7 separate regions of the Homo sapiens genome follow, and regions 1, 2, 3, 4, 5 and 6 are each linked to region 7. Evidence: promoter capture Hi-C in 16 types of primary human blood cells and fetal thymus (Javierre and others, 2016). All regions are on one chromosome and are shown on one strand. The core of a region is centred on a gene start or on the middle of the fragment in contact, and the rest is flanking DNA. Distances in the headings are between cores, read along the strand shown.

The links. Contacts are between HindIII fragments. The CHiCAGO score rates a contact against its expected background, and 5 or more counts as called.
Region 1: a fragment that was not itself captured here is called in contact with the fragment with the promoter of ERLNC1 in region 7 in 1 of 17 cell types (M2 macrophages); the score reaches 5.6 in M2 macrophages.
Region 2: the fragment with the promoter of ZBED6 here is called in contact with the fragment with the promoter of ERLNC1 in region 7 in 6 of 17 cell types (M0 macrophages, M2 macrophages, fetal thymus and 3 more); the score reaches 8.1 in M0 macrophages.
Region 3: the fragment with the promoter of MDM4 here is called in contact with the fragment with the promoter of ERLNC1 in region 7 in 1 of 17 cell types (M2 macrophages); the score reaches 6.1 in M2 macrophages.
Region 4: a contact is called between a fragment that was not itself captured here and the fragment with the promoter of ERLNC1 in region 7, in 1 of 17 cell types (M2 macrophages). The highest score is 5.7, in M2 macrophages.
Region 5: a contact is called between a fragment that was not itself captured here and the fragment with the promoter of ERLNC1 in region 7, in 2 of 17 cell types (M2 macrophages and neutrophils). The highest score is 9.0, in M2 macrophages.
Region 6: a fragment that was not itself captured here is called in contact with the fragment with the promoter of ERLNC1 in region 7 in 5 of 17 cell types (M2 macrophages, endothelial precursors, M1 macrophages and 2 more); the score reaches 7.1 in M2 macrophages.

The regions. Positions count from the first base shown.
Region 1 is chr1:204,396,023-204,398,722 of GRCh38, forward strand. It overlaps a transcript of PPP1R15B not described here. Among named protein-coding and RNA genes, the nearest start is that of PPP1R15B, 14 kb to the right of the region's middle. The HindIII fragment of the contact is 3,146 bases long and covers 1-2,700 here.
Region 2 is chr1:203,794,347-203,797,046 of GRCh38, forward strand. ZBED6 (zinc finger BED-type containing 6) reads left to right here and starts at 1,277. Exons shown (of 17, transcript NM_001395895.1): 1 at 1,277-2,700. It overlaps ZC3H11A (zinc finger CCCH-type containing 11A), which reads left to right and starts at 1,277. Exons shown (of 18, transcript NM_001376342.1): 1 at 1,277-1,448. RefSeq lists an enhancer at 978-1,397. The HindIII fragment of the contact is 5,182 bases long and covers 1-2,381 here.
Region 3 is chr1:204,515,096-204,517,795 of GRCh38, forward strand. MDM4 (MDM4 regulator of p53) reads left to right here and starts at 1,311. Exons shown (of 11, transcript NM_002393.5): 1 at 1,311-1,414. RefSeq lists enhancers at 1-704, 565-1,764, 705-1,615, 1,054-1,183, 1,194-1,273 and 1 more. The HindIII fragment of the contact is 1,369 bases long and covers 902-2,270 here.
Region 4 is chr1:203,813,101-203,815,800 of GRCh38, forward strand. All of the region lies in intron 1 of ZBED6 (zinc finger BED-type containing 6), which reads left to right. The region is part of intron 2 of ZC3H11A (zinc finger CCCH-type containing 11A); the gene reads left to right. Among named protein-coding and RNA genes, the nearest start is that of ZC3H11A, 19 kb to the left of the region's middle. The HindIII fragment of the contact is 2,754 bases long and covers 32-2,700 here.
Region 5 is chr1:203,839,349-203,842,048 of GRCh38, forward strand. ZBED6 (zinc finger BED-type containing 6) reads left to right here. Exons shown (of 17, transcript NM_001395895.1): 11 at 958-1,026. ZC3H11A (zinc finger CCCH-type containing 11A) reads left to right here. Exons shown (of 18, transcript NM_001376342.1): 12 at 958-1,026. Among named protein-coding and RNA genes, the nearest start is that of SNRPE, 21 kb to the right of the region's middle. RefSeq lists a silencer at 1,979-2,179 and an enhancer at 2,194-2,694. The HindIII fragment of the contact is 8,507 bases long and covers 1-2,700 here.
Region 6 is chr1:203,882,998-203,885,697 of GRCh38, forward strand. No RefSeq gene overlaps it. Among named protein-coding and RNA genes, the nearest start is that of SNRPE, 23 kb to the left of the region's middle. The HindIII fragment of the contact is 5,731 bases long and covers 1-2,700 here.
Region 7 is chr1:204,140,075-204,142,774 of GRCh38, forward strand. It overlaps ERLNC1 (estrogen receptor responsive lncRNA 1), which reads left to right and starts at 1,334. Exons shown (of 3, transcript NR_123739.1): 1 at 1,334-1,402; 2 at 1,491-2,186; 3 at 2,575-2,700. ETNK2 (ethanolamine kinase 2) reads right to left here. Exons shown (of 8, transcript NM_018208.4): 4 at 1,241-1,383; 5 at 1-44. The HindIII fragment of the contact is 8,592 bases long and covers 107-2,700 here.

The DNA of each region.
Region 1 (2,700 bases), core at 148-2,647, 260 kb after region 7:
CAATGAAATACTACTCAGCCATGAAAAGGAATGGACTACTGATACACTCAACAGAAGGAATGGACTGCAGAGACACTCAACAGCACAGATGAATCTCAAAAGCATTACAGTAAAGAAGCCCACCACAGAAGGGTCCATGCTGTACATCCGATACCATTTTTCTGAAATTCTAGAAGAGCTAAAAGTGTTGAAAGCAGATCAAAGGCCAGACGTGGTGGCTCACACCTGCAATCCCAGCATGTTGGGAGGCCAAAACAGGCAGATCTCTTGAGCCCAGAAGTTCAAGACTAGCCTGGGCAACATGCCAAAACCTTATCTCTACTAAAAATACAAAAAAAAAAAAAAAAGCAAAAACAAAAACAAAAAAAAAAAAACAAAAAACCAGCTGGGTGTGGTCGCACACAGCTGTAGTCCCAGCTACTCAGGAGGCTGAGGTGGGAGGATCACCTGAACCCAGGGAGATAAGGCTGCAGTGAGCCGTGATCACACCACTACACTCCAGCCTGGGTGACAGTAAGACCCTGTCTGTCAAAAAAAAAAAAAAAGACAAAGAAAAGAAAAGCAATGGCTGCCAAAAGCTGGAGGTTGGGAAGGGGACCGAATACAAAAGAACATAAGGGAACTTTCTGGGTGATGGAAATGATCCATATTTTGATAGTGGTGGTGTTTATATGACTACACGTGTTTATCAAAACTCATTGAATTCATACTTAAAATGAGTGAAACTTATTGTAAATTATACTTTAATAAGTTAATAAAAAACAAGAAGTGGGTTGGGGAGACGTTGCTCAAAGGATACAAACTTTCAGTGAGGAGGAATAAGTTCAAGAGATCTACTGTACGACATGGTGACCATAGTCAATAACAATGTATTATATTCTTGCAAATTGGCCAGGTGAGGTGGCTCACACCTGTAATCTCAACACTTTGGGAGGCAGGAGGAACACTTAAGCCTAGGACTTCAAGACCAGCCTGGGCAATATAGGGAGATCTCGCCCCTACAGATAACTTAAAAATTAGCCTGTTGTGGTGGTGTGAGCCTGTGGTCCCAGCTACTCGGGAAACTGAGGCAAGAGGATTGCCTGAGCCCAGGAGGTTGAGGCTGAAGAAAGCCATGATCATGCCACTGCACTCCAGCTTGGCAACAGAGCAAGGTTCTGTCTCAAAATAAATAAATACATAAATAAATAATAAAATAAAATAAAATAAATAAATAAAAAGCCCAGGCGTGATGGCTCACGCCTGTAATCCCAGCACTTTGGAAGGCCAAGGCAGGCAGATCACCTGAGCTCAGGAGTACGAGACCACCCTGGGCAACATGGGGTGAAACCTGTCTCTACTAAAATACAAAAAATTAGCCGGGTGTGGTGGCACGCGCCTGTAGTCCCAGCTACTTGGGAGGCTGAGACATGAGAATTGCTTGAGCCCAGGACGCGGAGGTTACAGTGAGGCGAAATTGCACCACTGCACTCCAGCTTGTCTCAAATAAATAAATAAATAGAAAAAGGAAATTGCTAAGAGTAGATTTTAAGGGTTCTTACCACAAAAAAAATGCTAAGTATGTGAGGTAATACATGTTAATTAGCTTGACTTACCATTCCACAATGTACACATATTTCAAAACATCATGTTGTAGACAGTAAACATATACAATTTTTGTCAATTTAAAAAACAGAAAAGTTTAAAAAACAATGTCCTCAACCATCTTAGAAAACTGGATATGAATGGTATCCTGCATAATGAAGTGCCTTTCATAACGATGACAATGTTTCAGCGAACCTTAGGCTACCACTGGAAAGAGTAGTCATGACGACCTTACATCAACTGATTTAAAACTTTGGGTTTCAGGTCATCACTAATAATGCTAGCTTTTCAAAAAAAAAAAAATCAAATACTACAAATACAAAATAATGTAAACATTGAAGATAGACCTTTTCACATACAAAATTGCTTCTTTGAAATGAATTCATAAATTACTTGTTATGTCGGGAGGGAGCCTGTGTGTTGGAAAAAAGAGGCTATGGAAATTACCACTTGAGTTAAAGAAAAGTGTATCATGTGTCTAAAATACTCTGGTCACTGCGCAGACCCTTCCACCACAGAGGAAGAAAGGAAAGAGCAAATCACAATTAAAATTCAATGTGACTTGAACAGTGATAAAAAAGTATACAAGGGCCAAGTGAGGTGGCTCATGCCTGTAATCGCGACACTTTGGGAGCCCCAGGCAGTAGGATCTCTTGAAGCCAGGAGTTTGAGACCAGCCTAGGCAATATAATTAGACCCCATCTCTACACACAAAAATAATAAAATTAGCCAGGCAATGTGGTGCATGCCTGTGGTCCTAGCTACTTGGGAGGCTGAGGTGGGAGGATTGTTTAAGCCCAAAAGTTGGAGGCTGCAGTGAGCTATGACCGTGCCACTGTACTCCAGCCTAGGCCTGGGCGACAGCAAGACTCAAAAAAAAAATCAGTTCCTTTGTTTGTGTTCAAATACAAATCTTGGTTCTCCTATAAGAAAGAGCCCCTACTTCTGGGTAATTACCACAAAAAGGTGGAGTCACACTGGGCCAGGCAGGCCTGGAATGGGCAGGGCAGGGCAGTTTTCCAGCTTGTTTACACATTGAGGGACCCACCTCCAGGGGAGCAATAGCAACCAGATCTGTAATAACAGGTGTCCATCAGGCACTCCCAGATGGAAGAT
Region 2 (2,700 bases), core at 27-2,526, 350 kb before region 7:
CTGGGACTCGCACATCACCAACCCGGCAGCTGGAAGAACAAGCACACGAGGAAATAAAAGGTGCCTGAAGTCCCATCTGCTTTATCATCAAGTGTTTCCTTTCTTAGTAGCACAACTATATCCTTTACCCAAGTTAGGTAAAATGTTGCCACCTAATTAGAGTTCTGCTGAGCCACTACCCCAGGGGGACCTTGGGCTCCTATTATATGTGTAATATATTTAAGTATATTTTCAGTGTAAAAGCCAGAAAGGATATATGGTAAGTTAATGAGAGCTATTTCTCAAGAATGAGATTAATAGAGATTTTAACTTTCTACTCTCTATATTTCTGTATTGTTTCTAAAAAAACTTACGTGTATTAAGTTTTTTACTTTTTTTTTTTTTTTTTTTTTTTGAGATGGAGTCTTACTCTGTCGCCAGGTTGGAGTGCAGTGGTGCGATGTCAGCTCAATGCAACCTCTGCCTCCCAGATTCAAGCGATTCTCCTGCCTCAGCCTCTCGAGTAGTTGGGACTACAGGCGCGTGCCACCACGCCTAGCTAATTTTTGTATTTTTGGTAAAGATGAGGTTTCACCATGTTGACCAGGATGGTCTCGATCTCTTGACCTTGTGATCCGCCTGCCGAGGCCTCCCAAAGTGCTGGAATTACAGTCGTGAGCCACCGCACCGGCCACGTGTATTACTTTTATAACCGGGGGAAAAAGTAAAAACATTCAAAAGGGAAAATAAGGGACAATGTTAATAATGAAGCAGGGATGAGACTGCTGATTGCGACCTCCAACTAACTCTCCTGAATTTTGTCACGAGCATGAATTACTTTTCCAATACACAAATTTGCTTTAAGAAATCAAAGAAACACCCCCCCAAAGCCCAATCTCACTTCTTCAAGTAAAAAATAAACTAACAAATCATTCTACATTGCATGCTTAGGAAAAGTACAGTTTATTTCTAAATTAAATGTATACATGGTTTGGGAGATTTACTCATTAAGCAAACACTTTGGTAAGAATAAATTGAGCGCTTACTGAATGGCAGTCTCAGTTCCTGCGGCCCTCCCGCTTATTACCTCATTTGATTTAAAAACAAAAACAAAACGTTATGAAAGCCGGCTTCGAGGCATTCCTCTGAAGGGAAGGGACTCCCCGACCCAGCGCCTCCCCCGTCACGTGACCCTGTGACCCGGAGCAGCCATCTTAGGCATCGCCTCATAGAGGAACTACATCTTCCAGAATCCTCGCGCCCTGCGTCGTGCTGGCACTTTTACCGGCCGGGCCTTAGAGCGGAGCCTGTAGCCAGGCGCCATCTTTGACGCTGGCAGTCTTGGTTTTCTGCTAGTGCTGCTGCTGCTGGGAGGACGACGGACGGCAGCGGCCAAGCAAGAAGAAAGACGTGGCAGCAAGCGGGAGTCGGGGATAGTGTCATCGGTTCGGTAAAGTTTCTGTTCTCTGGTAACTAGACCCGTTTTTTTGATTCCCGGGTGGCTTGGGGCCGGGGAGGTGGGGGAGAGGGCGAGGGGAGTGGCAGCGGCCTCCCCTCGCCCCTGGGTCGCGGCCTATCCCGGGAAGTCAGAGCGGATCCTTCAGCTTCGCCGTAACGACCCCTCCCCCCCACCTCCCGGTCGCGGCCCTCGCCGGGGCTGGCTGGGAGCCCCAGGCTCCCGCTCACTTTTCCCATCCTCCCCACCCCCACCCCGTTCACCCCACCCCCACGGCGCCTGCTCCTTTCCCAGCCAACCTTCCTCCCCTCCCCCACATCCGGTGTTCGCTAATCTCGAGGAGCCCGGAGCAGCCCCGAAAACCGACTGTTCCCCCGAATCCCGAAGAGAGAACTGACACTAGATTGCTTTCTTCGGGGCAACAGTTTCTCTAGTTGAGCGGACCCTCACTGCCTAAATCAATCAGACTGAGTGCCGGGCGCTGAATTTACCTACTCTCATTCCTCTCCAGGGTCCCGGTACTTTGGAGCTTGTCTCAAACTCCACATACAGAAAGCCACCGACCTTATTCCGGTATCCTACACCCATTCCCCACTCTCATTACACTCCCACCCCTGGCCCTCAGCGTCGGAGTCAAGAGCAACAGGGACACTTCCGTTCTCCTTGTAGGACTGGTGAAACCGTAATGAAGAACACCCCTAAACTCCCATAATCGGTGCGGATTCCTATGGGGAAGGCCTATATTGTTGACATCTTCCAGGCCTTGGTTCTGGACCTTGAGAAAGAGGCTGTGGAACTAGAGATAGCGATGCTTTTTAGGGTAAATGTATGTAGGTATTGGGGGAAGGGGAGGGATCAATCGAAAAATGGAAGTGGTTTAAAGTTCATATTTCACTTTTTGCTATCTCTATAGCGTACAACTTGTGAGTTACTTACAGGCTGTAAAAGCTTCTCAAGTCTAAAAATATCTGAAAACTAAACTTGAATTAACTCTTAATACAAACAGTACTTTGAAAATGCAGCATTTAACCTTGTTTTAAAATTTTTTTCTCAAAGCATTTTTTTCCAGCCACTCACATTTTAAAAGGTTGTATTACTTTTAGTTAGAACTGAAAGGGCTCAACTAGCATTTGCTGTGACCAGTATGCGGAGTCTGTGTTGGCTTTCCAGAATTGACTTTTTGGGTTGTATTGGCAAATCACAGTCCTAAATGATGAATGTTGAATGATGCACTATGTTTTTGTTTAAATGAGATTTCCTGAAAA
Region 3 (2,700 bases), core at 61-2,560, 370 kb after region 7:
GGCAGGCTGTCTTCAAATGACATTACTTCCCCCAAATACCTAATTTCATTTATTTCAGAACAACTCTAAATGTTAGAGGATTTTCTGAGCTTAAAAATACTGCCTTGTAATTTCTATTGGTTTTAGTTCTGCACTTTGGAGAAGAGAATAAGGCTCCGTTATTTCCAATATTATACTATTCAGTTATTTGAAGACAGCTTCCAATTTCTATGCTCAACCCTTTCCCTCTTTTTTTTTTTTTTTTTTTTTGAGATGCAGTTTCGCTCTTGTCGCCCAGGCTGGAGTGCAATGGCGCTATCTCGGCTCACTGCAACCTCCGCCACCCGGGTTCAAACGATTCTCCTGCCTCGGCCTCCTAAGTAGCTGGGATTACAGGTGACCGCCACCATGCCCCGCTAATTTTTTGTATTTTTAGTAGAAACGGGGGTTTCGCCATGTTGGGCAGGATGGTCTCGAACTGCTGACCTCAGGTGATCCGCCCGCCTCGGCCTCCCAAAGTGCGCTGGGATTACAGGGGAGAGCCACTGCGCCCGGCCTCCCTCGTTTATATGCAGGTTAAAAACTCCCTTGAGCCTTCAACTATTTCTTTTTCTTTTTTTTTTTTTTTTTTGAGGAGTTTCGCTCTTGTTGCCCAGGCTGGAATGGCGCTATCTCGGCTCACTGCAACCTCCGCCTCCCAAGTTCAAACGATTCTCCTGAGTAGCTGGGATTACAGGCATGCGCCACCACACCCGACTAATTTTGTATTTTTAGTAGAAACAGGGTTTCACCATATTGGTCAGACTGGTCTCGAACTCCTGACCTCAGGTGATCCGCCTGCCTTAGGCCTCCCAAAGTGCTGGGATTACAGGCGTGAGCCACAGCGGCTGGTGCTTTCAACTATTTATTTGACATGGCTTCAAGCTTCCTTGCCACCCTAGTGCCGCCATCGCTCCGTTTCCCTTCCCTACCACCCTTGGGGAGTAAGGGTGAGGACTGGGGAATGGCAGAGGAAGCGTAGTTTTTCCGAAGAGCTGAAGGCAGCCTGTGATTATGACCTTAGCTCTTCCTCTTCTCTGTTTTCTGATCTCCTAATACACGTCTGTAAATATCACAAGACCCTGCAAGTCCCTCACTTATTATCTCTTCAAATCTGACGACTTTCAACCGTTCGGGCCCCACGACTCTCTCCCCGGACTAGGATCTACTCTATGGTAGTGAGCTCAGCCTTTCTAGCTCTCTAGTCCTCCCATTGCTCCATCTATGGTTTCCGGAGGCCTCACCGGAAGCCCTCGTGTGAGGCCGTGTGGGAGGCCGGAAGTTGCGGCTTCATTACTCGCCATTTCAAAATGCTGCCGAGGCCCTAGGATCTGTGACTGCCACCCCTCCCCCCACCCGGGCTCGGCGGGGGAGCGACTCATGGAGCTGCCGTAAGGTGTGGCTCTTGGCCTTCGTCGGCGGGGTGCCGGGAGCGGGAGCTGGAGAGTGAGGAGCAGGCGGCCGTACCGCCAGTTGTGCGGGTAGCGGGCGGGAGGAGCTTGAGAGGTGGGTCGGGCGGCGTGGGGAAGGCCGCGCCAGGCGGAAGAAGGGCTCGGGGGGAGGGGAAGAGTTGTGGGATGAGGGCTCGCGGAAGATAAAAGTGGAGGTGGGGTGACGTGAAGTAACTTTGGCCAACAGGTGACAAACCTAAAGTCGACGTAGTTGGATTGAGTTTAACTGGACACAACATTTGAGGACTGTTGAGGCAATTTGGAGAAAGGAGGTGGGAGAGAGGGAACCGGGTAGAATGACATTGACGTGTCTTAAGTTTTTAAGTTAGTTTTTAGGTCTGCGGACAGTCTACCTTAGAGGCACTTGAGTGCTTGTTTGAAAATGCTTGTTTTGGCTTGGCGCGGTGGCTCACGCCTGTAATCCCAGCACTTCAGGAGGCCGAGGTGGGTGGATCTACCTGAGGACAGGAGTTCGAGACCAACCTGGCCAACCTGGTGAAACCCCGTCTCTAGTAAAAATACAAAAATATTAGATGTGTGTGGTGGCGCATGCCTGTAATCCTAGCTACTCGGGAGGCTGAGGCAGGAGAATCACTTGAATCCGTGGGCGGGGGTTGCAGTGAGTCGAGATCGCGCCACTGCACTCCAGCTTGGGCTACAGAGGGAGATTCCGTCTCAAAAAAAAAAAAAGAAAAAATGTTCGTTTTGGGGCCACACTGAAACCTACAGACAGTATCGAGATGGGGCTCAGAGAAATATATTTTAATGAGCACACCTCCCAGTGATTTTTGTATACCTTAAAGCTTGAAAACCACAGGTTTTTTTGGTTGTGTTTTTGTTTTGTTTTTGTTTTTTTTGAGTGGAGTTTCGCTCTTTTTGCCCAGGCTGGCGTGCAGTGGCGCGATCTTGGCTCACTGCAACTTCTGCCTCACGGGTTCAAGTGATTCTTCTGCCTCAGCCTCCCGGGTCGCTGGGATTACAGGTGTGCGCCACCACGCCTGGCTAATTTTGTGTTTTATTAGAGATGAGGTTTCACCAGGTTGGCCAGGCTGTTCTCGAACTCCAGACCTCAGGTGATCCGCCCACCTCGGCCTCCGAAAGTGTTGGGATTACAGGCGTGAGCCACCGTGCCCGGCCGAAAACCACAGTTTAAAAGCAACACCCGGAGAAAATGCTGCAGCTCTGTGCTGTTGGCACGTGGAACTAGTATCTGTCAAAGATACTTGGAACC
Region 4 (2,700 bases), core at 159-2,658, 330 kb before region 7:
TCCCAGCCTGTGGCTTTTTCATTCTTTCTTAAGCTTCTTAACAGAGCTTTCACAGAGCAGACCTTTTTAATTTTAATGAACTCCAATTTAATGTTTTTTTGTTTTTTGTTTTTTGTTTTTTTTTGGATGGAGTTTTGCTCTTGTTGCCTAGGCTGGAGTGCAGTGGTGTGATCTCAGCTCACTGCAACCTCCGCCTCCCAGGTTCAAGCAATTCTCTTGCCTCAGCCTCCTCAGTAGCTGGGATCACAGGCATTCACCACCATGCCTGGCTAAATTTTAATGGTTTTTATTGAAAACCAATTTATTGGTTTTCTTTTGTATTTAAGTTGTTATCCATGTTATTTTTTGTGAAAAGTATAAAGTCTGTGTCTAAAATTATTTTTTTATATGTGGATATCCATTTGTTCCAGTAACATATGTTGAAAAGACTATCCTTTTCCCCTTTGTCAAAGGTCATTTGACTATGCTTGTTATCTGTATTAGTTCCTAGGACTTCCATAACAAAGTATCACAAACTGGGTAGCTACAGAAGTTTGTTGTCTCACAATTCTGAAGGTGAGATGTCTAAAATGTTTTCAGCAGGGCCATTCTCCCTCTGAAGCCTGTAGAGGAATGATCCTTACCCATTCTGGCTTCTGGTGTTTGTTGGCAATCCTTGGCATTCCTTGGTTTGTAGATGCATCACTCCAGCCACATGGTCATCTTCTCCTTGTGTGTCTTCTCATCACATTCCCTCTGTACATGTCTGTCTCTTTCATTTTAAGCTGGCAACATTTTTTGCTAAGATGGTTGCCTGAATCTAGTCACACACCTAATCTCCAACAAACTGTTGCCCACCCATACCCTTTTCTCTACAGAGCATACATTCTTGTTTTTTTTTTTTGCAATATGGATAGAGTGAGAATTTTCTAAATTTTCAAGTTCAGATTCTTTATTCCTTTTTGCTTCATAGTTCTTGCCTCAATATGTCTCTCTCCTTGCATTTCACTGTAAGCAGCAGGAAAAGCCCAGGCTGTTCCTTCCACACTTTGCTTAGAAATCTCCTCAGCTAAAACCCAAGTTCATTGCTTCCAGGTTCTGCCTTCTGCCCAACACAACCCAATTCTAAGTTCTCTGCCACTTTTTAACAGGAATAACCTTTCCGGCCAGGCGCTGGCTCACACCTGTAATCCCAGCACTTTGGGAGGCTGAGGTGGGAGGATCATCTGAGGTCAGAAGTTCAAGACCAGCCTGGCCAACATGGCGAAACCCTGTCTCTACTAAAAATACAAAAATTAGCCATATGTGGTGGTGCAAGCCTGTAATTCCAGCTACTTGGGAGACTGAGGCGGGAGAATTGCTTGAACCTGGGAGGCAGAGGTTGCAGTGAGCCAAGATGGCACCATTGCATTCCAGCCTGGGTGACAGAGCAAGACTCCATCTCAAAGAAAAAAAAAAGAATAACCTTTCCTCCAGTTTCCAATAACACGATCCTAATTTCTGACTGAAACCTCACCATAAGTACCTTAAGTACCTTTAACGTTCATATGCTTTAGCAGCAGTTTCTTCTAGGCCTTTTCTATCAAGTACCTCAAAAGTCTTCCAGCCTCCACCTATGACCCAATAACAAAGCTGCTTACATATTTTTAGATTTTTTTGTTTTTGGTTTTTTACAGCAGCATTCACTTTCTGGTATGAAACTCTAATGGCTGTATATTGTCACATTACATGAATATACCGTAATTTTTTTAAATCATTTGTTTATTTTTGAGATAGAGTCTCACTCTGTTGTCCAGGATGGAGTGCAGTGCATGATCTCGGCTCACTGCAACCTCCACCTCCCGGGTTCAAGAAGTTTCCCTACCTTAGGCTCCTGAGTAGCTGGGACTACAGGTGTGTGCCACCACACCTGGGTAATTTTTGTATTTTTAGTAGAGATGGGGTTTCGCCATGTTGTCCAGGCTGTTCTCAAACTCCTGACCTCAAGTGATCCACCAGCTTCCACCTCCCAAAGTGCTGGGATTACAGGCATGAGCCACCGTGCCTGGCCATATATCATAATTTTTAAAAATAGTCTCCAGTTTTTGAACAGTTAGGTTTCTAGATGTTATTTCATTATTTTCTTCCTTTTCTTTTCTTTTTTTTTTTTTTTTGAGACAGTGTCTCGCTCTGTTGCCCAAGCTGGAGTGCAGTGGCGCAATGTCAGCTCACTGCAACCTCTGCCTCCTGGGTTCAAGTGATTCTTGTGCCTCAGCTCCCCCGTGTAGCTGGGATCACAGGAGTGTGCCACCACACCCAGCTTTTTTTTTTTTTTTTTTTTTAAGAGATGGGGTTTTGCCATGTTGTCCAGGCTGGTCTCGAACTCCTGGACTCAAGCGATCTGCCCACCTTGGCCTCCCAGAGTGCTGGGATTATAGGTATGAGCCACTGCACCCGGCCTATTTCATTATTAAAACAAGATTGTGATAACATTTATTGTGCATTGTTACCTTTAATACTTTTACATATTATAATACATTCTAGAAATGGAATTGTCGAAGGGTATGTAAACTTTAAACATTTGGGTACATGTTTAGTACCCATGTTCAGTGTCAGACTCTTAATCCAGGTTGTTAACATCAAGGTGACTTTTCATCATGGCATACCATTCTTGCATTAGGAATTATTAGTGGGAGATATGACTGAATTTGATTTAATTGATTTCAAGTTGTAGATCACTAT
Region 5 (2,700 bases), core at 12-2,511, 300 kb before region 7:
AGAATTCTTTATAGTTGAAGGAGAGCAAAAAGCCAAGGTTAGATTTATGTTTTTTCTGCTTGTATGACTTGCAGTGAAACACTGGCGTTAAATTATTAAAGAATAGGTGTTTTTTTCCTTCTCATTGTGTTTGGTTTTAACTTTCTTTGAAATAAGAAACTTCTTTTAATTTTTCCCCTTGCCCAAGGGACTTTGATGAGTAGACGTTCCTGTTTGGAGGTTTTCTTGCATTCTCAGAGCAAGCAAAAGTTACTTTCTTTGCCACATTGTTTTCCTCCTTGTGTATTGACCATGTTGAAGATTTTCATAACTAAGGAGCATATTTTAAATTTACTTGGAGGAAAAATTATTTCAATGACAGTAAGGTTTTAGAAGGCTCTACAATAACAAAATTATTTCCTTTAATTCAGTAGTTTTTGCTTTTCAGATATAAAGTACGTTTTTCTTTGTTTCTTTTGGTATTTTTGTTTTTTGAGACAGAGTCTCACTCTGTCACCCAGACTGGAGTGCAGTAGCGCTATCTCAGCTCACCCCAACCTCCACCTCCCGGGTTCAAACGATTCTCCTGTCTCAGCCTCCAGAGTATCTGAGATTACAGGCATGTGCCACCACACCCGGCTAATTTTTGTGTTTTTAGTAGAGATGGGGTTTCACCATGTTGGCCAGGCTGGTCTTGAACTCCTGACCTCAAGTGATCCACCCACCTCAGCCTCCCAAAGTGCTGGGATTACAAGCGTGAGCCACTGCGCCCAGCTAATTTTTGCAATTTTAGTAGAGATGGGGTTTCACCATGTTGGCCAGGCTGGCCTTGAAGTCCTGACCTCAAGTGATCAGCCTGCCTTGGCCTCCCAAAGTTCTGGGATTACAGGTGTATGCCACCATGCCCAGCAAACCTGTATTTAAGCTGTAAAAAGTTTCTGTTCAACTTTTGATTTTTGAAAATCTTTCTTTTCACAGCTCAAGTTTCCAAGTCTCTTAAGGAGCGATTAGGCATGTCAGCTGATCCAGATAATGAGGATGCAACAGGTAAGTAAATCCTAAGACCAGATTCTGATTATTTTTTTCTTTGCTGTAAGAGCCTTTGCTTTTTCTCAGATTTACCTGTTGCTTGCTAGGGCTTTTGATTTTTGTTCTTTTGTAGTTCTGTTTGTTTTTTAAGTAATTGATCAAGTCAGCTCAGACTCAACTGGGATCAATTCCTTTTTTGTGCTTAGAGATGGTAAAATGATTGTTCATCATAGCATTAATAGTAGGAAATTATTTATTTATTTATTTATTTATTTATTTATTTTATTTATTTTTGAGACAGAGTTTTGCTCTTGTTGCCCAGGCTGGAGTTAAATGGCAAGGTCTCAGCTCACTGCAACCTCCACCTCCTGGGTTCAAGCAATTCCCCTGCCTCAGCCTACCGAGTAGCTAGAATTACAGGCGTACGCCACCATGCCTTGCTAATATTTGTATTTTTAGTAGAGACGGGGTTTCACCATGTTGGTCAGGCTGGTCTCAAACTCCTGACCTTAGGTGATCCACCTGCCTCAGCCTCCCAAAATCCTGGGATTACAGGCACGAGCCACCGCACCCGGCTAAATAGTAGGAAATTAGAAACAACTTAAATATACAATAAAAAGGGTTTAGATAAAATTATGATAGTTATGTGCTAAAATAATTGCTGTCATGAAAAGTCAAATGCTGAACAACGATATGGAAAAATCAACTTGCATTGTATCAAGTGAAGAAAGATAACAGAGAGCACATACCACTTTTGACCTCCTGATTTAGGGCAACATAAGAATCTTTTTTTTTTTTTTATTTTTTTTTTTAGTATTTATTGATCATTCTTGGGTGTTTCTCGGAGAGGGGGATTGGCAGGGTCATAGGACAACAGTGGAGGGAAGGTCAGCAGATAAACATGTGAACAAGGGTCTGTGGTTTTCCTAGACAGAGGACCCTGCGGCCTTCTGCAGTGTTTGTGTCCCTGGGTACTTGAGATTAGGGAGTGGTGATGACTCTTAACGAGCATGCTGCCTTCAAGCATCTGTTTAACAAAGCACATCTTGCACCGCCCTTAATCAATTTAACCCTGTGTGGACACAGCACATGTTTCAGAGAGCACGGGGTTGGGAGTAAAGTTATAGATTAACAGCATCCCAAGGCAGAAGAATTTTTCTTAGTACAGAACAAAATGGAGTCTCCCATGTCTACTTCTTTCTACACAGACACAGTAACAATCTGATCTCTCTTTCTTTTCCCCACATTTCCCCGTTTTCTATTCGACAAAACCGCCTTTGTCATCATGGCCCGTTCTCAATGAGCTGTTGGGTACACCTCCCAGACGGGGTGGTGGCTGGGCAGAGGGGCTCCTCACTTCCCAGATAGGGCGGCCGGGCAGAGGCGCCCCCCACCTCCCAGACGGGGCAGTGGCCGGGTGGAGGCGCCCCCCACCTCCCTCCCGGACGGGGCGGCTGCCGGGCGGAGGGGCTCCTCACTTCGCAGACGGGGCGGCTGCCGGGCGGAGGGGCTCCTCACTTCTCAGACGGGGCGGCCGGGCAGAGACGCTCCTCACCTCCCAGATGGGGTGGCGGTCGGGCAGAGACACTCCTCAGTTCCCAGACGGGGCCGCGGCTGGGCAGAGGGGCTCCTCACATCCCAGACGGGGCGGCAGGGCAGAGGCGCTCCCCACATCTCAGACGATGGGCGGCC
Region 6 (2,700 bases), core at 3-2,502, 260 kb before region 7:
CTCCATGCTAATAGATGAATAGCAGTATCTCATTGTTTTAATTGTCATTTTCCTGTGACAAATGATTTTGTGTGTCTTTTCATGTGCTTATTTGATATCACATATTTCTTTGGTGAAGTATCTCTTAAGACTTTTTGCTGATTTTTAAAAATTGGGTTGTTTGATTTCCTTTTTTATGTGTGTGTTGGGAGGGTTCTTCTGGATGAAAAGTTCCTTATCAAGTGTTTTGCAAATATTTTCTGCTGGTCTGTGGCTTGTCTTCATTTCTCTATAATATCTTTAAAGAACACAAGTTTTAGCCTGGACAACATGGTGAAACCCCATCTCTACAAAATTTAGCTGGCTGGGCATGGTGGTGCACACCTGTAGTCCCAGCTACCTGGGGGACTGAAGTCTGGGGGGCTGAGGTGGGAGATCATTTGAACCTGGAAAGTCGAGGCTACAGTGAGCTGAGATCATGCCACTGCACTCCAGCCTTAGAAACAGAGTGAGAACCTGTCTCAAAAAAAAAAGAACACAAGTTTTATGTTTGTATTTATTTATTTATTTATTTATTTATTTATTTATTTATTTTTGGAGACAGAGTCTTGGTCTGTCGCCCAGGCTGGAGTGCAGTGGCACAATTTCAGCTCACTGCAACTTCCACCTCCCTGGTTCAAGCAATTCTCCTGCCTCAGCCTCCCGAGTAGCTGGGACTACAGGTACACGCTGCCACACCTGGCTAACTTTTTATATTTTAGTAGAGACGGAGTTTTACCATGTTGCCCAGGCTACTCTCAAACTCCTAAGCTCAGGCAATCCGCCCGCATTGGCCTCCCAAAATGCTAAGATTACAGGCGTGAGCCACCACACCTGGCCTCTTTTAAAATTCTTATATTTTTACATTTATGATATATTTTGGGTTAATTTTTAAAATAATGGTGTGAGTTATGGATTATGGTTCATTTTTTTTCATATGGATGATCAGTTATTCAAGAACCATTTGTTTAAGGCTATTGGTTTTCAATGAATTGCCTTAGTACCTTTTTTCAAAACCAATTGACCATATATGTGGGTATTTTTCTGAATTCTCTTATTGTTTCGTTGACCTATAGGTCTGTTGTTTTAATGATACCACATTGTCTTGATTACTTTAGCTTTGTAGTAAACTTTGGCCTCGGGTAATTTGAATCCTCCAATTGTGTTCTTCCTTTTCAAAGTATTTTGGCTATTCTAGGGTCTTTACCTTTCCATTTAGATTTTAGAATCAGTTTATTGATTTCTTTAAAAAAAACAACAACCTGGGATTTTGGTTGAGATTGATTAACTCTATTAAGCATTTTGGGGTAAATTGTCATCCTAACAATATTGTTGGCTGGGTGCAGTGGCTCATGCCTGTAATCCCAGCACTTTGGGAGGCCGAGGCGGGTGGATCACCTGAGGTCAGGAGTTCAAGACCAGCCTGGCCAACATGGTGAAACCCCATCTCTACTAAAAATACAAAAAAATTAGTCAGGCGTGGTGGTGGTGGTGTGTGCCTGTAATCCCAGCTACTCGGGAGGCTGAGACAGGAGAATTGCTTGAACCTGGGAAGTGGAGGTTGCAGTGAGCCGAAATCGAGCTACTGCACTCCAGCCTGGGCAACAAGAGCGAAAATCTGTCTCAAAGCAAACAAATGAAAAACAATATTGTCTTCCAGTGGTGAATATGGTATATCTCCCCATTTATTTGGATTTTTCTTCTGTTTCTCTCATCAGTATTTTGTAGTTTTCAGCTTTACCACATTTTGTTAGGTTTATCCCTTCACGAGTATTTCTCTTTTTTTCTTTTTTTGAGACAGTGTCACTCTTGTTGACCAGGCTGGAGTGCAGAGGTGGGGTCATGGCGCACTGCAGCCTTGACTTCTCAGGCTCAGGTGATTCTCCCACCTCAGCCTCCCAAGTAGCTGGGACTACAGCTGCATGCCACCATGCCCAGCTAATTTTTTGTATTTTTAGTAGAGGAAGGATTTCACCATGTTGCCCAGGCTGGTCTCAAACTTCTGGGCTCAAGTGATTGCCCTGCCTTGGCCTCCCAAACTGTTGGGATTGCAGGCATGAGCCACTGTACCTGGCTGTTTTATATTTTTGATGCCACTGTAAATGGTACTGTTTTTATAATTTTGACTTCCAATTGTTTTTATTGACCTTGTATCCTATGACCTTACTAAACTCAGTTCTTTGTTGTAGTAGGTGTTTTTTTGTAGATTGCTTGGGATTTTCTTTTTTAAGTTGTCTATAAGGTATACAACACTGAAATAATTACTACAGTCAGGCAAATTAACCTGTCACCTTCCATAGTTACCTGTTTTTTTGTCTGGTAAGAGCACTTAAAATCTACGGTCTTAGCAAATTTTTCATATGTAATACAGTATTATTAACCGTTTTCCTCATGCTGCCCATTAGGTCTCTAGGCCTGCTCATCGTACACAACTGCCAGTTTTTGCCCTTTAATCTACCATTCCCCATTTCTCCCCTTCCCTGCCCCTGGTAACTGCTGTTCTCCTCTGTTTCTATGTACAGATGATCTCTAACTTACAATTTTTCAACTTTCGGATGGTGAGAAAATAATATACATTTAGTACACTCCTTGACTTACTATGGGGCTATAGCCAGATAAACCCATTGTAAGTTTAATATATAATAAGTAAAAAACAAAAGTTTCTTTTTTTTTTTCCAGATG
Region 7 (2,700 bases), core at 84-2,583:
GTAGTTGTAGCCAGCATATTCATAGTCAATGAACCGCACGTGACCTATGAAGTAGAGGAGAATCGATGAGAGTTGGCCCAGGAGATCTGGCAACAGAGCCTGGTCAAGCTTCCACAGACCTCTGGGATGCACCCACTGAGTGATGCCGGCCTCTGCAGCAACCCTGCCCAATCCCATCACTGCAGCAGTCTTCCAAGCTACTTCCATTCATCCATCCATCCATCCATCCATCCATCCATCCATCCATCCATCTGCCCTTCCCAGCTCCCAGTGTCCCTCTCACACAGCTGGATCTTCAGGCTCTCCTCATCTAAAGACAGCTGTCCTCAGCATGGCTAAGGATCAGGAATAAAGCTAAGTATTAATACGCCCTGGGGTGATGCCCTCATCAGCAACACCAGGATGTGTTCGTTCTCTCTCTTTCTTGGCACAGATTTTTGTTTGTTTGTTTTTGTCTTTTTTTTTTTTGAGACAGAGTCTCGCTCTGTCGCCCAGGCTGGAGTACAGTGGCATGATCTCGGCTCACTGCAACCTCTGCCTCCCTGGTTCAAGCGATTCTCCTGCCTCAGCCTCCTGAGTAGCTAGGATTACAGGCGCACACCACCATGCCCAGCTAATTTTTGTATTTTTAGTAGAGATGGGGTTTCGCCATGTTGGCCAGGCTGGTCTTGAACTCCTGACCTCATGATCCACCCGCCTTAGCCTCCCAAAGTGCTGGGATTACAGGCATGAGCCACCGCGCCTGGCCAGACTTTTTTTTTTTTTTTAAATAGGGTCTTGCTCTGTTGCCCAGGCTGGAGTGTAGTGGCTCCATCATGGCTCACTGCAGCCTCCACCTCCCAGGCTCAAGTGATTCTCCTGCCTCAGCCTCCCGAGGAGCTAGGACTATAGCATGTACCACCATACCAGGAAAAGTTTTGTGTATTTTTTTTGTAGAGACAGGGTCTCACCACATTGCCTGGGCTGGTCTTGAATTCCTGGGCTTAAGCAATCCACATGCCTTGGCCTCCCAAACTGCTGGGATTATAGGCATGAGCCACTGAGACTGGCCCTTGGCACAGACTTTTCAAAGTGGGAATTTTTTATTTCCTTTCCCCCTTCCCTCCTACAAATTAACTTAAGACCTAAATCAAGGTCTAACTTTTGCTTGTCCAAGTGCCAGCCGGAAGAACAGCTCCGTGAAGCCAGCTAACCAACCAACCAAAACCCTGCTGCTGCCCCAGGGCCAGAGAAGCCATACCTTTGATGCTGTCATAGATGATATTCTTGCAGAGCAGGTCATTGTGACAAAACACCACAGGGGACTCCAGCTGGGACAGATGCTCCTTCAGCCAGGCCAGCTCCCGTTCCAACACCTCTACCTTAGGGACATCTGCAGAAAGGCTGGGCAGTGGCAAAAAAGGTAGCCAGTGAAAGGAGGGCTGATAGACAGGTGCTTGGCCTCAAGAGCCCTGAATCTGAGCCTCATCACTCCCTCTGTCTTACTGCAGGGGGCCTTGGAAAAATGGCCAATCTCTTAGACCCTCACTTTTATCATCTGTAAAATGGCACTGAGGCGTCCTGTCCTTCTGACTCCTCTGGTTATGCTAGGAAGCTGATAAAGACATGGGCGTCAAAGCATGAGGCAGAGCATAAAAGTCACTGACTGAGGGCATCCCTGCTACTTTGTGAAAGGAACAGGAGGGTAAGGAAGGAGACACAGGGAAAGGACAAGGCAGGTGAGAACGAGTGTCCAGACCTGGGGATTCCAGACTAAGAACAAGGGCAACAGGAGCAGTGGGGAGAGATGCAAAACAGACCTGATCTTAGGATGCTGGGAAAACTCCCCAGGAGGCGGTGCAGCTCCCTAAGTCGAGCTGACTCCCACAAAGATCCTCCCCAGGAGGAAGAGTAGTGCCCTGGCAGGGAGCTGGAGCAATGGAGCTCTCTTGAGGAGGCAGAGGTATGTCCTGGTATGCACCCCCCTCTCACCCCAGCAGCTGACCATGTCACAGGTAGAAGGGATCAGAGAGACGGTCTGGTCTAACCTCTCATCTCACAAACAGACCATCGGCTCACATGAGAAAGCAAACTAAGAGCTTCTTTAGCTCACTCCTACACTGTCAAAGGAACATTAAAGCCTTCAATGAAGAGCATGCTTGCTTTGTGGCTCCCCATTGACTCATCCCTTCTACCTTGAGTTATGAGTAAGTGTTCCCTTGTCCCAGACCCCTGCCATATCATGCAAGTGCAACCTGGGGGCATGAACAAAGATGCATGGGTCAACCTCTCCTGCTGCCCCACCCCCATCCCAAGCACTCAGCAGCCATTTCTGCTGAAAGAAACACATGTTGAGGAATGAAGAAATCAGCCAATCAATCAAGTTATCAGAGGCCATGTGGAAGTCTGATGAGGGTCCACTGTGCTTGTGTGCTCTGAACTTTGGTCCCCAGGAGGCACACAGGTCTGTGTACACTGAAAAGGCCAAACACTTATCACAGTCCTTAAAAAACCTAGAACCACCAATGGGCAGAGGGGAGGAGGCTGGGCTTTTATCTCCATTCCTGTGTCACCTGTTTGTGTTTCTCTGTCCAGGGTAGCAAGAGCACATAGAGAAGGATGAGGATGAGACCGGCCCTCTCTCACCTTCCCACAGGACAGACCGATCACTCCCTCACCCAGCCCAGGGGCCAGAACACGAGAAAGAGTATTCAGTGACTG